Regions from separate parts of the Homo sapiens genome. Here region 2 is linked to region 1. The links are contacts of gene promoters, found by promoter capture Hi-C in human tissues and cell types (Jung and others, 2019). All regions are on one chromosome and are shown on one strand. Each heading gives the region's core, a stretch centred on a gene start or on the middle of the fragment in contact. The rest is flanking DNA. Distances are from core to core; before and after follow the strand shown. Region 1 holds the start of CDC42BPB (CDC42 binding protein kinase beta). Region 2 holds the start of TRAF3 (TNF receptor associated factor 3).

What was found. The method cuts DNA at HindIII sites, captures the fragments that hold promoters and counts their contacts. A contact is called where the count stands out against the background at its distance.
Region 2: a contact is called between the fragment with the promoter of TRAF3 here and the fragment with the promoter of CDC42BPB in region 1, in 1 of the 25 tissues and cell types used here (liver).

The regions. Positions count from the first base shown.
Region 1 is chr14:103,055,002-103,061,916 of GRCh38, forward strand. It overlaps CDC42BPB (CDC42 binding protein kinase beta), which reads right to left and starts at 2,548. Exons shown (of 37, transcript NM_006035.4): 1 at 1,998-2,548. The coding sequence starts at 2,172. RefSeq lists silencers at 2,220-2,299, 2,390-2,889, 2,930-3,039 and an enhancer at 3,035-3,685. The HindIII fragment of the contact is 24,533 bases long and covers 1-6,915 here.
Region 2 is chr14:102,774,410-102,781,324 of GRCh38, forward strand. TRAF3 (TNF receptor associated factor 3) reads left to right here and starts at 3,040. Exons shown (of 12, transcript NM_145725.3): 1 at 3,040-3,266. RefSeq lists an enhancer at 1,613-1,852 and silencers at 2,563-2,622, 2,713-3,322, 3,533-3,582, 3,823-3,882. The HindIII fragment of the contact is 12,756 bases long and covers 1-6,915 here.

The DNA of each region.
Region 1 (6,915 bases), core at 1,298-3,797:
GGACCACATCTTCCCAGCAAAACCAACTTTCCCTCTGCTTCCTCTTCCCAGTCACACTCACAGGTGGTGCACCAAGTTGAACCTGACAGTGGAACTGTGTGGGTTTCAAGATCGAGTGATCAGAAAGGAACGGTAAACAAGCTGGGTGCAGTGGCTCACGCCTGTAATCCCAGCACTTTGGGAGGCCGAGGCAGGTGGATCACCCGAGGTCAGGAGTACAAGACCAGCCTGGCCAACACTGTGAAACCCCTTCTCCACTAAAAATACAAAAATGAGCCGGGCATGCTGGTGCGTGCCTGTAGTCCCAGCTACTCGGGAGGCTGAGGCAGGAGAATTACTTGAACCCAGGAGATGGAGGTTGTAGTGAGCCAAGATCATGCCACTGCACTCCAGCCTAGGCAACACAGTGAGACTCGTCTCCAAAGAAAAGAAAGAAAAGGTAAACAAAATATTCAGATTTTAACATGCACCAAAGACCTCACTTTCAAAGCAACGGTGAAGTCAATTAATTATTCAGTTGGAAATCGTGTCACTGACAAAGGACGCTAGAAAGCAAATACTCTTAATTTACTGATACTATAAGTAACCAAGAATGGTGGTTCCCACGGAAATAAAGCATCACAGGCTGTCCTTGATCTCAGGACCTCTTTCTACTGCTGCTCTCACAAGATACCGTGTAACATTTCACTACAGAGTAATCCAACAGAAGCCCTCTAAAGAATATTGCAACTTAAGTTTTATTTGTAAACAAAATTCCAAATTCCAGTCACCAATCTGGCAGAGTAGAGTAGGAGGCCTGGAGGCCTCACTGTGGAACACTTTCATTTGTTTCTTCGTATAAATATCAGCTTTATCAGCCCCAAAGATTAGAAATTACTGGTTCGAACTGAACAGTCCTAGCCCAGTGACGCAAATGACCCAAGGATAAGGTTTTCATAGGTTTGGCCTGAACATACGCATTTCCTCCTCCTACTCAGTGGTTTTAGGTGAGACAGTCTGAGGGTCTTGACCGGCACACCCGTTAGGGAGAGATGAAGTAAAAGAGTTTCACGCTGCACTTTTACCTGTCTTTAGGATCCTAATTATCGTTAAATGGTTTAATCAAATTTTTGTCCTAAAAAAGCATAATAGGTTAGCTGACCAATGATTAAAACATTATAGATCCGGAACGAACTAGAGAAGGCATGCAAAATTCAGATGAGAAAGTTTCTAAGTGATAGCTCCAGCTACCCCTCCAAATATCACAAAGGTCTAGCAGAATTGGAATTAAAAAAAAAAAGTCCTCTTGCACGGTTTATTTAAAATAAAGCCTTAACCTTAAAATTCCCTTGAAGGTGTTACAGCAAAGTAGGTATTCAGGCTCTGACCAACAAGGGGATGTAGACAGGCTGTCACCCAGGAGGGGCCGTTAGAGCTGGGCTCCCTGGGGATGCAAGGGGGTCCCACGGGGCAGTGGGCGAGGCAGATGCAGAAAGCACACCCAGCTGCCCCCACAACGCAGAGAAGCGTGGGGTGGGGAAAGGGAACTAATTCCACACTGCCTCCGGACCCCAAAGGCGAGGTGCGGGGGCGGGGGCGGGGGCGGGGGCGGATATCCCAGTGAGTGCTGCAGGAAATGATATCCAGACTCGGAGGGTGGATCTAGGAAGCCGCCAGGGCGAGGGCCCGGCGGGGGGGAGGGGGTGGGAGTGGGAACGTAGGATGTGGCTCCAAGGGGCAGGATGAGGGGGCGGGACGATCGAACGCGGATGTCGAGCCTAGGGAGGGCAAGGAGGGATGAAAAGCTAGCGGAGGGACGAGGGTGCAAGGAGCGGCTGGAGAGAGATGGGCTGCGGGCCTGGGGGCGCTGCCAGAGCGAGAGGAGGCGAAGCCCACGAGCTGGGTGGGCAGGAGGGCGGCAGGGTCTGTCCGGGCGGGGATGGGCGGGCGTGGGGATGCGCGGGCTGGGGCGCGGGGGTCGCAGAGCCGCAGGTCCGGCCCTGCCGGCGCGCACTTACCCCACTCGAGGAACTCGGCCACGTACTTGTCGCGGCGCAGGGCCGAGTGGCTGCACTCGGTGTACAGGCAGACGAGCACGTCGAGCAGCGTTTCCACGCTCAGGGCGCTCTCGTTGCGCCAGGGCCCGTCCAGGAGCAGCTGCTCCAGCTTCTTGAGCCGCACCTTGGCCGACATGGTGCCGCGCGGCCCGCTCCCGACGCGCCGGCCTCTCACCGCCGGCTCGGCCAGTCCGTCAGGGCGCGCCCTCGGGGGCTCGGCGGCTGCGAGCCCCGGCAGCAGCGGCGCCTCCTCGCCGCCCCGTCCGCGTCGTCGCGCCCCGGCCTAGGCCGACATCTTGGGCTCCGTCCCGACGGCGCAGAGTCTGGGGCGCCGGGCCCCGCGGGTCCATGGGCCGCTCTCCTCCCCTCGGCGCCGCCGCCCTCCCAGCTCGGGCGGCCCGCCCCCGCCGCCCTCAGCCCCGCCCGCGGCCGCGCCCTCCCCGCCGCCGCCGCCGCAGACTAGGAGCGGCGAGGAGCCTAGCGCTGCGCAAGCCCGGCCGGCGCCCGAGCCCGACCCCAGCCCCGACCCGGCGGCCCAGCCCCGCGGCCCGCAGCCAACCAGGGCGCGGCCAGCACCAGCGCAGCCAACCACTACGGGGCCGGCCGCCGCCGCGCTGACCTCAGCGCGCCGCCCCGCCCCGCGCCCGGCTCCCTGCTCCCGGCGGGCTCGGGCCTCGCCGCTTGCCGTAGGGAGCCGGGATGCTGGGAAGGCAGGGCCGGGCCTGGGGAGCGGCGCGGGGTGGGGGTGGGGGGGGCGGGGCGGGGCGAGTGGGCCGCTGAGATTGCGGAGCCCGCGCATGCGCAGAGCGCGCCTGGTGGGCGTGTGCGCCTTCGCCCTGCGGACCCGGTGCCTTCAGTATTCGGGGTCCGACCGCGCGCGTCGCGGATCCCGGGGCCGAAGACGACCCCAAGTATCGGAGAGGCAGAGTCGCGATCTCAGGCCGTCGAGCCCCGTCCCGCAGTCCGCGGGCCCATGTTGCCTGCGGGGCCTCGGACCTGCCCGGCCGAGGTGGGGGTCGAGGGCGGCCCGGCAGGCGCAGCTCTGATGGCCTCGGCGGGTTGTGGGCTATTTAAAACGGCTTGTCCCAGCTCGAAGCGGTCCTGGAAGACTCGGGCCCTACCCCTGACTTTACCGATGAGAGACTGAGGCCCAGACGGTGTGGGGTCAGGGCCCAGGCTTCTGGGGGATGCTGCCAAGGCGGGAGCCAGCGTCCCCAGTGCCCGGTGGATTCGTGATGGCTTGCAGAGGGTTTCAGTTTCCACTGTCCAGCCCTCCCTGCAGACCAATGCCTAGGTGTGACAGTTTGGTAGGAAAGGGGCCGGATATTTGTCTCCAGGCTGGGTTTGCCTAGCGAGTCGCTGCATTTACTAAGATTGTTGGTTAATTTGGGTGGCTGGGGGAGGGAGGCTGATGGAGATACCCCCCAACCCCAACAAACCCTTGGCGTCAGGAGAGGAGGGGCTTTTCCTGGAGCTTGCGGAAGGTCACCGAAATCGTGGGGGTATCTGAGAGCTTCTGGGGCGCGCGGGTGCAGGGGAAGGGGTCATGCTTCCGTGGAAGCGGTGGCCTCCAGGTGGAGCCGATGAAGGGGCAGATAGGGGTTTGAAGCAGGACGTTAAGGGAGCCTGAAGCAAAACTAATCTCTGGAGCTAAAAATAGGAGTGGGCCTGGCGCGGTGGCTCACACCTGTAATCCCAGCACTTTAGGAGGCCGAGGTGGGCGGATTGCCTGAGCTCAGGACTTCGAGACCAGCCTGGGCAACACGGTGAAACCCCGTCTCTACTAAAATACAAAAAACTAGCCGGGCGTGGTGGCGCGCGCCTGTAGTCCCAGCTACTCGAGAGGCTAAGGCAGGAGAATTACTTGAACCCGGGAGGCGAAAGTGCAGTGAGCCAAGATCGCTCCACTGCACTCCAGCATGGGCAACAGAGCACGACTCCGTCTTAATAATAGTAATAATAATAAGAAGAAGAAGAAGAAGAAGAGGAGTGGCTGCCTATGCCGGAGTTGTTGACTGGAACAAGAGGAGGAACCTTCTGGGCTGCTGGTAATGTTCTATGCCTGGATTTGGGTAGTAGTTACATGGGAGCACGCATAAGTAAACATTCTTCAAACTGTCTTCTTAAGATGAGTGCATGTCACTGTGTGTATGTATATATAATACCTTCATTTCTTAAAGGCAGGTGAGAACAATCTGGCGTTAGAGGTGAGAGTACTGGTTGCCTTTGGGGTATCAACTGGAAGGAGGCACAAGGAGAGGCCTCTAGGGGGCTGGGAACATTCTGTATCTTCAGCACAGCCGTTTTGTAACGTTGGGTCTGTAAATGTGTATAAATTCATCAAACTGTATTCTAAATATTTGCATGTTACTATTTGTGTATGACACCTTAAAAGTTTTTTTTAAAAAGTCTGAGCAGATCACCTGGCTCAAAATCAAAGTTAAATCTTCCCCCTTGGACCCCTTAGGGCCTGAGATGAGCAAGGGGAAAGGGGGCTGTGCCTGGTGCCATCTCCTTCCCCAAACCTCCCTCGGCTCGCTCAGCCCACTTCCACCCATCTAGAACCACCACCGGGAAGGGAGAAAGGGAGAAGTGGGGAAGGGCTCCAATCCCATCTGGATTGGCAGAGGGTAAAGCTGACCCTGTCTCTCCTGGGAACATTCATGGGCTCCTCGGTGGTTCCCTGCTGCTTTGTCTCCTGAAGTCCCCTTAACTCAAGCAGATGTGCCACTGGGTGGATGCTTACCTGGTGGCTGTGGAGGGGAGGGGCCCTCTGCCCTTCCTGAGGGACTTTTGGACAGGACCTAAATGGATCCATGGGTCTTGTGCTTGCTCATCCACCCAGCTCACATCTGTCCTCAGGAAACACTGGCACACTCCTCGCCCCAACATTAGTGAACAGGTGGGTCCCAGCACAGCAGCATAGCTCTGCCTCTGAAACAGCACATGAGCCCTTCCTGCCACTGTGCCCTCCAAATTGAGTGCCAAATATTGAGCTCTCTGAGAAATCCCTTGGAAGCCACCCTCACAGGCTTAAAGTGAAGGAAGGAGTGCCTGTCCTCTGTGTCCCCTGGCAGGATCACCTGACCAAACTTTCTCTTCCACTCTCATCTTTTATTCCTGAGTGTGGGACAGATTCCCAAACATTTCTCTTGACAATCTGCCCATGGCGATCTGACATAGCATTTGAGAATTCCACATCTGCTCTCTCTTCTTGCCTCCTGGAAATTTCCATTTACTGTTCTTATACATTTACAAATGTACAACAAAGGTCATCGTGCCTTTGGTGGACAGTCCTTGTATTCGTCTGCCCTCGCTTTCTCTCTCTCCTGAGCCCCATGCCCTGTGAGTCTGTGCTCCAGCTCCACTCTGATCATAGGATTCTAGAGGGGCTGGCACCAGGGTGGACATGTGACCCAAGACCCTAGCAGCACTTCATCCCCCTTCAGTCATGTGACTGAAGCCAGGCCAATCAGAGAACTTATTTGTTTATGTATTCATTTATCTATTTATTTTTTAGAGACATGGTCTTGCTCCGTCATACAGGCTGAAGTGACTTGGCACAATCATAGCTCACTGCAGCCTTGAACTGCCAGGCTCAAGTAATCCTCCCATCTCAGCCTCCACAGTAGTGGGGACTACAGGTGTATGCCACCACATCTGGCTAATTTAAAAAAATTTTTTTAGAGAAGGAGTCTTGCTATGTCGCCCCGGTTGGTCTTGAACTCCTGGTCTCAAACAATCTTGCTCCCTCAGCAGATAACTTATTTAGAATGTTTTATACTGGCTGGGTGTGGTGGCTCACACATGTAATCCCAGCATTTTGGGAGGCCAAGGCGGGCAGATCATTTGAGGTCAGGAGTTCGAGACCAGCCTGACCAAAATGGTGAAACCTTGTCTCTACTAAAAATACCAAAAATAAAAATAAAAAATTAGCTGGGTGTGGTTGTGCACACCTGTAATCTCAGCTACTTTAGAGAATGAGGCAGGAAAACTACTTGAACCCAGGAGGCAGAGGTTGCAGTGAGTCAAGATGGCGCCACTGCACTCCAGCCTGGGTGACAGAGCGAGACTCCATCTCAAAAAGAAAAAGAAAAAGAAAAAGAAGGCCGGGCGCAGTGGCTCACGCCTGTAATCCCAGCATTTTGGGAGACCGAGCTGGGTGGATCACTTGAGGTCAGGAGTTTAAGACCAGCCTGGCCAACATGGTGAAACCCCGTCTCTACTAAAAATATAAAAATTAGCGGGGCATGGTGGCGCATGCCTGTAATCCCAGCTACTTGGGAGGCTGAGGCAGGATAATCACTTGAACCCGGAAAGCGGAGGGTGCAGTGAGCAGAGATTGCACCAGTGCACTCCAGCCTGGACAACAGAACAAGACTCCATCTCAAAGATAGTAATAATGATAAATAAAATAAAAAATAAAAAGAATGTTTCATACTAAAACTGGGAGAGAGAATTTCTTGTCCTTTCCTTTAGACCAGGGGCGGGTAAACTTTTTCTGTAAAAGGCCAGAGAGTAAATGTTTCAGGTTTTATGAACCCTACAGTCTCTGCATCTACCATTATAGCAAGAAAGCAGCCATAGACAATGTAGAAACAAATGAGCATGACTGTGTGCCGGTAAAACTTTATTTACAAAACAAGCAGCAGGCTAAATTTGGCCTGCAGACCCGTAGCTTGCTGCTCCTTGCTTTACAACACAAGCTATGATGGTGAGACTTCAGCTCAACAGCCACAACACCTGTTAGAGAAAGAAAGAGAAAAATGAGAGAGAGATCTGGTTACATGAAACAATAAATTTTCCTTTTCTCTTGGCCAGGTGTAGTGGCTCATGCCTGTTAATCTCAGCATTTTGGGAGGCCAAGGCGGGCAGATTG
Region 2 (6,915 bases), core at 1,790-4,289, 280 kb before region 1:
AAATAAAACAAAACAAATCAAAACCAAGGTCCCCACCCCCCACCCCCAGGCCACGTGTAGCATGTTTGAGTGAGAGAAGTTGCCAGCACCCTTCAGCCCAAGTTGACCCACAGGGGCCAGTGGTTTTTGTGTGGGAAGGCGCCACCTGAGGCACAGACCATCACATTCAGGGAGAGTTATAAGAAAACCCCTTTCCTAGCCCCAAAGCCCCTGGCACTCTGCCACGAATACCTTTTCCTTCTCACTGAAAGACAAACAGGATGGCCTTCTGAGCTGTTGCATGTCTGTGAGTCACTTGAGTATCTGCATGCACTTCTCCAAAAATGCAGCAAGCAGAACATGTAATGCTACATCAACTCCTGTGAGAAATGCGTCCAAAGATGGTGTCGGTTTGTTGTTGGACGTTGCCATAGGGAACAGAGATCTGCCTTTGAAGTACAGCGAGGAGAGAGCTCTCCTTCCTGCCCATCACTGCTGCCCTGTGGCTCTAACTGCAGGGGCGAGAACACCCGCCACCAACCCCCAAAGCAGTTGCCCTGCTTGGGGCAAACTTCTTTGTCCTGTCCCCCTTCAATTCCCCACAGCAGAGGATCTTCAGAACTGCTCAATTGGAGAAGAAAAAGGAGGAGGAGGGGAGGGAGAGAAAGGGAGGGAATAGGTCTCACCAGCAGAGGGCTCAGCCTGGTTGTGCCTGACTTCATTCTCAATGTTGCTTTCTAATGCTAGGCTGGAGCATGAAAAGAGCCGCAGAAAACCCTCTCATGGGTCTTTGGACCTTCTGCCTTGCTTCTTCTTTTCTTTTCTTTAATTATTTATTTATTTTTATTTTTTTGAGACAGGGTCTCGCTCTGTTGCCCAGACTGGAGTCCAGTGGTGCCATCATGGCTCACAGCAGCTTCAACCTCATGGACTCAAGCGATCCTCCCGCCTCAGCCTCCCAAAGTGCTGGGACCACAGGCATAAGCCACCATCCTACTTTTTTTTTTTTTTTCCAGACAGAGTCTCACTCTGTCGCCCAGATAGGAGTACAATGGCACAATCTCAGCTCACTGTAACCTCCGCCTCCTGGGTTCAAGTGATTCTCTTGCCTCAACCTCCTGGGTAGCTGGGATTACAGGCACACTCCACCACGCCCGGCTGATTTTTGTGTTTTTAGTAGAGACGTGGTTTCACCATGTTGGCCAGGCTGGTCTCGAACTCCTGACCTCAGGTGACTTGCCTGCCCGCGGCCTCCCAAAGTGCTGCAATTACAGGTGTGAGCCACCATGCCCGGTCCATGTCCTGCTTCTTTTAAAACAACCAAAAATAGTCCAGCCTAGGAAAGGGAGTCTTTCCTGATTTTGGCAAAGTTAAACCAGGCCATAGGTAACACACAGCATAAGGCAGGCGTTGGGAGTGGGCCCCAGTCGACAGGGTGCCAGGACTGTGGGCTAAGCAGGGCTGGGGACATGGGAGGCCTCAGTGCCTGGGCTATGGGAAGTGGTTGGGACCCTGAGCCTGAGGTCAGTAACATCCCAACTCCTGACAGGCAAGAAAGGGCACCTGAGGCTCCCAAGGGGAGTCCACCATGGGGGTGGGGGAGACCGCTGGAGTCCATAGGTCCCTGTGAGGGACGGCGAAGGCGGGCCTGTCACCTCTAAAAGAGCTGTGCCTGTGGCGCAGACGGGGGTGCCACTGTGGCCTGGTGAGTGTGGCTGTAGAACAAGCATCTGTTGGGCTAATGGAGCCAGAGACATGGTCCAATGTCTCTGATGTCCAGATAGACTTCCAGCAGCCAGGTCGGACTATCTGGGGTTCTGGAACGTTCCATGGGTGAAGCTGTAGGAGGAGATGCTGGACTTCCTGCCTCCACTCACATGAGTCACTGGAGCAATACAAGAAGGCAGACTGGCCTTGGCTACTCACACTGGTCTCAGCTCTGGGGTAGGGCTCTTTATAAGCCTTCTTGAGAAGTGAAAAATGCAAAGTCCTTTCTGTCCCCTCACCACTGACTTGCAAACTCCAGCGAAGGCCTCACCCCTCAGCTGGCCCAGAGCCTCCCAGAAGCCCTCCCTTCGCTTCCCACCTCGCCAGGCCCAGCCAGGCTGGGTGCTGCCTTGGTGGGCCTAGGTGAATCACTGACACACCACTGATGCCTTTGGGGCAGAAGGCAGAGGCCTCGGGAGAAATGCGCAGGCCCCAGCGGCCTGGTGGAGGGTGCAGGGGGCGCAGGGGCAGCCAGGACCGCCGAGGACGCTGGGGGCACGTGGCAAACTGGCTACCCTGTCCACCCGTGAGCAAGACACCACTCCGGGGGCGTGGGAGGGTCCAAGGGAGGGAGAAAGGAAAGTGCCACCAAACTAATGTGGAGCCCTGCCCTCTGCATGCGAAAAGGGGCTCCACGGCCTGAGTCACCCTCAGCCCCACCTGCGTGTGCGCGAGGGTGCGTGGCCTGGTACGCGTGCGCACGGTGTTGGTGAGCGTGTGTGTGCGTGTCCGCTTGAGGGGAATGTGACCGTCGTGTATGCGTCCGCGACAGTGCGGGGGGCCGCATATCGGACCCGTGCGTGTGCGTAGGGGTCGCGTGTGGCCATGGGCACACGGGCGTGCACGCACGGGGGCTGCGTATGCTATGCTGGCGTGGGGGGTGCGGGCGAGGTGGCCGCGGGGAGGAGCGGCGCCAGCACCTCTCGGCCCCCACGCGGCCTGCGTGGCTTTTTGACCCGGAAAGGCGGGGACGCGGGGACGCGCGGCGGCGGGGGCGCGGCGGGGGCGGCGCAGAGCGAGGAGGCCCGCGGGGCGCGCGGCGGGGACGGGAGGGAGGCGGGGGGCGCCCGGGGCCGTCCCCGCCCCGCGCCGCGGCGCCGCCGTTGCTAAGGCCGGGCGGGCGGCCGCCGGGCGCTAGGGCCCTTAGCAACGGGTCGCGGGCGCGCGCGGGGGGCCGGCGGGCGCGTGGGGCCGGCGGCGCTCGCGGGCTCCTGCCGCTCCCACGCGCGCGGGCGGCGGGGGCGGGGCGGCGGGCGCGCCGGGGATTTCCAGCGCGCGAGAGGAAGTGCCTGCGCGGGGCTGCGTGAGGGAGCGAGGGAGCGAGGGAGCGCGGCGCGGCCGCCGCGTGCGCGAGCCGGGGTTGCAGCCCAGCCGGGACTTTCCAGCCGGCGGCAGCCGCGGCGGCCGCCGGCTCTTCCCCGCCCCCCGCCATGGGGCAGCCCGGGGAGCAGAACGCTGCGGACCGCGGCGGAGGACGCGCCCGGCGCCCCTGAGCCGGCCGAGCGGCGACGGACCGCGAGGTAAGGGGCCGCGGCGGGCGGGCGGGCCTCCGGCGCGCGGCCGGGCGCCTCCATCCCCGTCGCCTCCATCCCGCGCCCTGGGCGGCGGGGCCCGGGGGCCTCGGGGCTGCCCGGCGCGGGCCCGGCGCGGCGCAGGCCCGGCCCGTCCCAGCGGCGACGGCGGGGCGCGGCTTCAGCCTGGCCCCGCGCCCCAGCCGGGCTGCCTCCCGCCTCCGGACGCCTCAACTTCGGCAAACTTTGTCCCGGAGGCCGGGCTCGGGGCCCGAGGGGGCCGGGGCGCCCGCACCTTTTCAGGAAACGGGGCGCGCAGGCCTCGCTACGGCCGTGACCCCCGCTGGCGTTGAGGACCCGGCACCCCGCGGGGCCGCGGGTTTCACGCGGGGGGACGGGCGGCTCAGGGGCTGCGTGGCCGAGCGCGCTGCCCGGGCCGGCCGGGGGGGCCCGGGCGTTATTGGAAAGTTGGTCCTGAGTCATTCCGCCTCAGAGGCGCCTCCGACCGCTTGGCGGGCGGCGCGGGGGTCCGGGTATGGGCAGAGGGCGCGAATCCCCCTCGCGCGGCCGCCGAGGGCCGGCGACTCCCGGGGCACCGGGCGGCTCCTGGCCGCGGGCTCTGCGTCTTCCCCGCGGGCGCCAGGCGGCTCTCGGCGGGCTGGCCGGTTCCACGCCGCCAGCCAGCCCCGTGTGGGGACTTCGGTCTAGTATTTGGACCCGAGGAGATAATTCTGTGTGGAAAATTCTCTCCCTTCGGTTGGAAACAGTAACAAACTGGAAACGGATGAGGTGTTATGGACGTGCTTGGAAATGCAAGAAACCTTCAGATTACGAGCTGTTGACGGGACCAGTTGTATTTCACGTTTTTCGAATTAAGCTCAGAATCAGTTTTCAGAATGACATGTGATGCGTGGTGCGTGGTGTGTGTGCCTGTGTGTGTGTATGGATATAATTCATTCATTTTTGTGGCGTCAGAAAGGTTATGTCGAGCGTTGTAGCGGCTTCTTAATTTACATTCACGGCATACAACTGAAGAGGAGCCATTATTTATTTTTTTTCCTAGCATTTGCTGCGACTACACACTGCCGGAGCGTTTGGAAATGTTGTTTGCTGTTACCCTGTATTTGTCTATAAAATTCTTACTGTAGGGAATGGCCAAGTGGACCATCAGTTCGTCCTGAGATCTTCTCATGTCTCTCACGTCTTTGAAAATGGCCTGTGAACAGACTGCATCATATGTAGGATGTCTGGCAAAATAGTGTACAGCGTTCTTTTCTCAAATGAGAGGAAATGTGTACCTTTTCGCCGCGTTGTGACAATGTAAATGTTAAGAATTAGTCTAAAGATGAAAATTCTTTGGCCAAAACAAGATAAGCCTTATCGATATGAAAACTGGAAAACATCACATGGGACTGGAAATCCTGTGAGTGGGTGCTCATGACGGAAACCCTGACAGACCTTGGATTCCAGCATCGCTGGTGAAAATCAGACCTTATCATGGATAAGGGTTAAGATGTAAGGTGTCTCACCCAGACGCCATCTGTTCCAGCTGTCAATGCAGAAGCCAGGAAAGGAGAGAGAGCTGGCCAGGGAGAATTCCAGCTTTTTTTTTTTTTTTTTTTTTTTTTTTTTGAGACATTCATGTGAATTTCTCTGCGAGGGGAAAGAAGACCAATTATTTTCCTTGGATGCTGTCCCTTCTTTTGGAATTAATAAGATGGCTTCACTCAGTGAGAGGCTGTAAAGACATTTCACTGGAAACAGGCAGTAACAGTGGCCAGTTGTTTCTGTTAATACCATCAAAATATCCCTACTCTTGTTTGTGCCTTGAAGAAAGTCCTTCATTTAACTGAGACATCTGAGCCTGCGTTGCGGATTCTGATTCTCTAAATACTCCTGCAAGAATCCCTTTAATTTTTCACTGTGCAACTCAAGAAGGACCTTTCTAGGGTATTGTCAGGATACGTATGCTAATGATATTGTCAGGTTAGGTGAGAATGATTGATCACTCCCTTAAAATCCTTTTTTATGATGTTAAAGCTGTACTTTAAGAAAGATAAAACTGCCACTGTGGCGTTGCAAGTCTGAGCTAGCTCAAGCAAACAAAGGAAATTGCGTTAAATTTGCCCAACTCTATTTTCTCATCTTCATATAGCAAGACTCTCCAAACAGCAAGTGATCTAACCTATCAAGTATTATGCAATAGCTGAATTTCCTTGCAATGGTCAGTTTAAAGAACTGTTAACTTAGCAGAGGCGACGTCTCGTGGCCAAGGCCCTTAGGGTCCACTCCATGGAATCAGGACCCCTTGCTGCTGCTTTGCGAGTGTTCATGGAGGAAGAAAAATCACTTGGTGTTCTTTTTTTGCATGGAAGAGTCATAATAACTGACTTCAGATACAGAGAAAGTGGGAAGAGTGAGAAAGAAGGAGGTGAGGCCAGAGGATTTGGAAGGCTACCAGAGAGAAGCAGCCGAGGCCTGATTGTGGAAATGATGCTTAGACTTGCTTTCAGCAGGAGTGATGAAGCCAGAATGAGGGAGGCCCAGACGCCCGGGAGAGGTACAGGGGATAGGTGCCATGTGGTTTGCACCACCGCAGCAGGCTTTGGGTCCCAAAGACGCGAATGGAAATAGAAGAAAATGCAGTTTTAAATAGAAAAGAAAAAAAAAACCGAGAAAATGTTATGTGTGCTTGTGTAAAATTTATTATTCATAATTAAAATACAAAATGGCTTTCTCATTTGAGAAAGCCTTTATTGACTAAGTTCTGCACAACACTATTCCAGGAAAGGGGGTGGGGAGACAGACCACCCTAGGGAGAAGGCAGAGTTTTTTACTATTAAGCATAATACCTTTTTTTTTTTTCTTTCGGTGAAGCTTATTGTCGGCCTGTACAGATGACTTGGAGTAGGCTGGCAGGTAGTGGGATGTCATAAATGTTGATGCCTGTTGGTTTCTATCAACTTTAGGAATCAGGTTGGAATCGATGCTGCATTCTGTATTCCTCGAGATAAGTGGATTGTTAATTGGGACTTGGGAGTCTTTTTCTCATTTAATTAATATTCAGTTAATGTGCCCTGAGTTCTCATAATGTTCTGGTTACCGTGCTGGGAAGAGTGAGACACAGCACCCATCTGCTAGGGTGTGATTTGCAGGGATATAGGCCATCTTGGCCCCTGTGCACAGTGAAGGGACATGCCAGAAACCAGCAGATACTTGACTGAGACAGACCAGGACAGGAGCTTGTGGCAGGAAGGATAAGGAAAAATGCAAATCTACCATCCTGCCCTCAGGGTGCTAACCCTTCGGGGGAGAATACTTTCTCCCACCAGGAAGAAACCAGAAAGTAAAAATGTAGGATGAAATGAATTAGTGGATTGTGTAGAATTCTGGAAGCGTGGTGGGAATCCACCATAAGGGAAAGAGAAAGTCTTCTGGGAAGCGGCGTTGAGTTGAGGCCCAGTGTCAGGAAAGCTCTGGTATAGTGGGGCCATCTGGTCCCTCTTACAGGGCCCCCTCCCACTTTGTTTTGGTAAGATGGGATCTGACGGCTTGCCATCCTGTCACTCCTTGCCAGTAGATGCAGTGCTGGCCATGCTGCTGGTCATTGGGTTTCCAGTTGGGAAGTTGCATGTGCTGGCCTTTGGCTCTTGCCAGG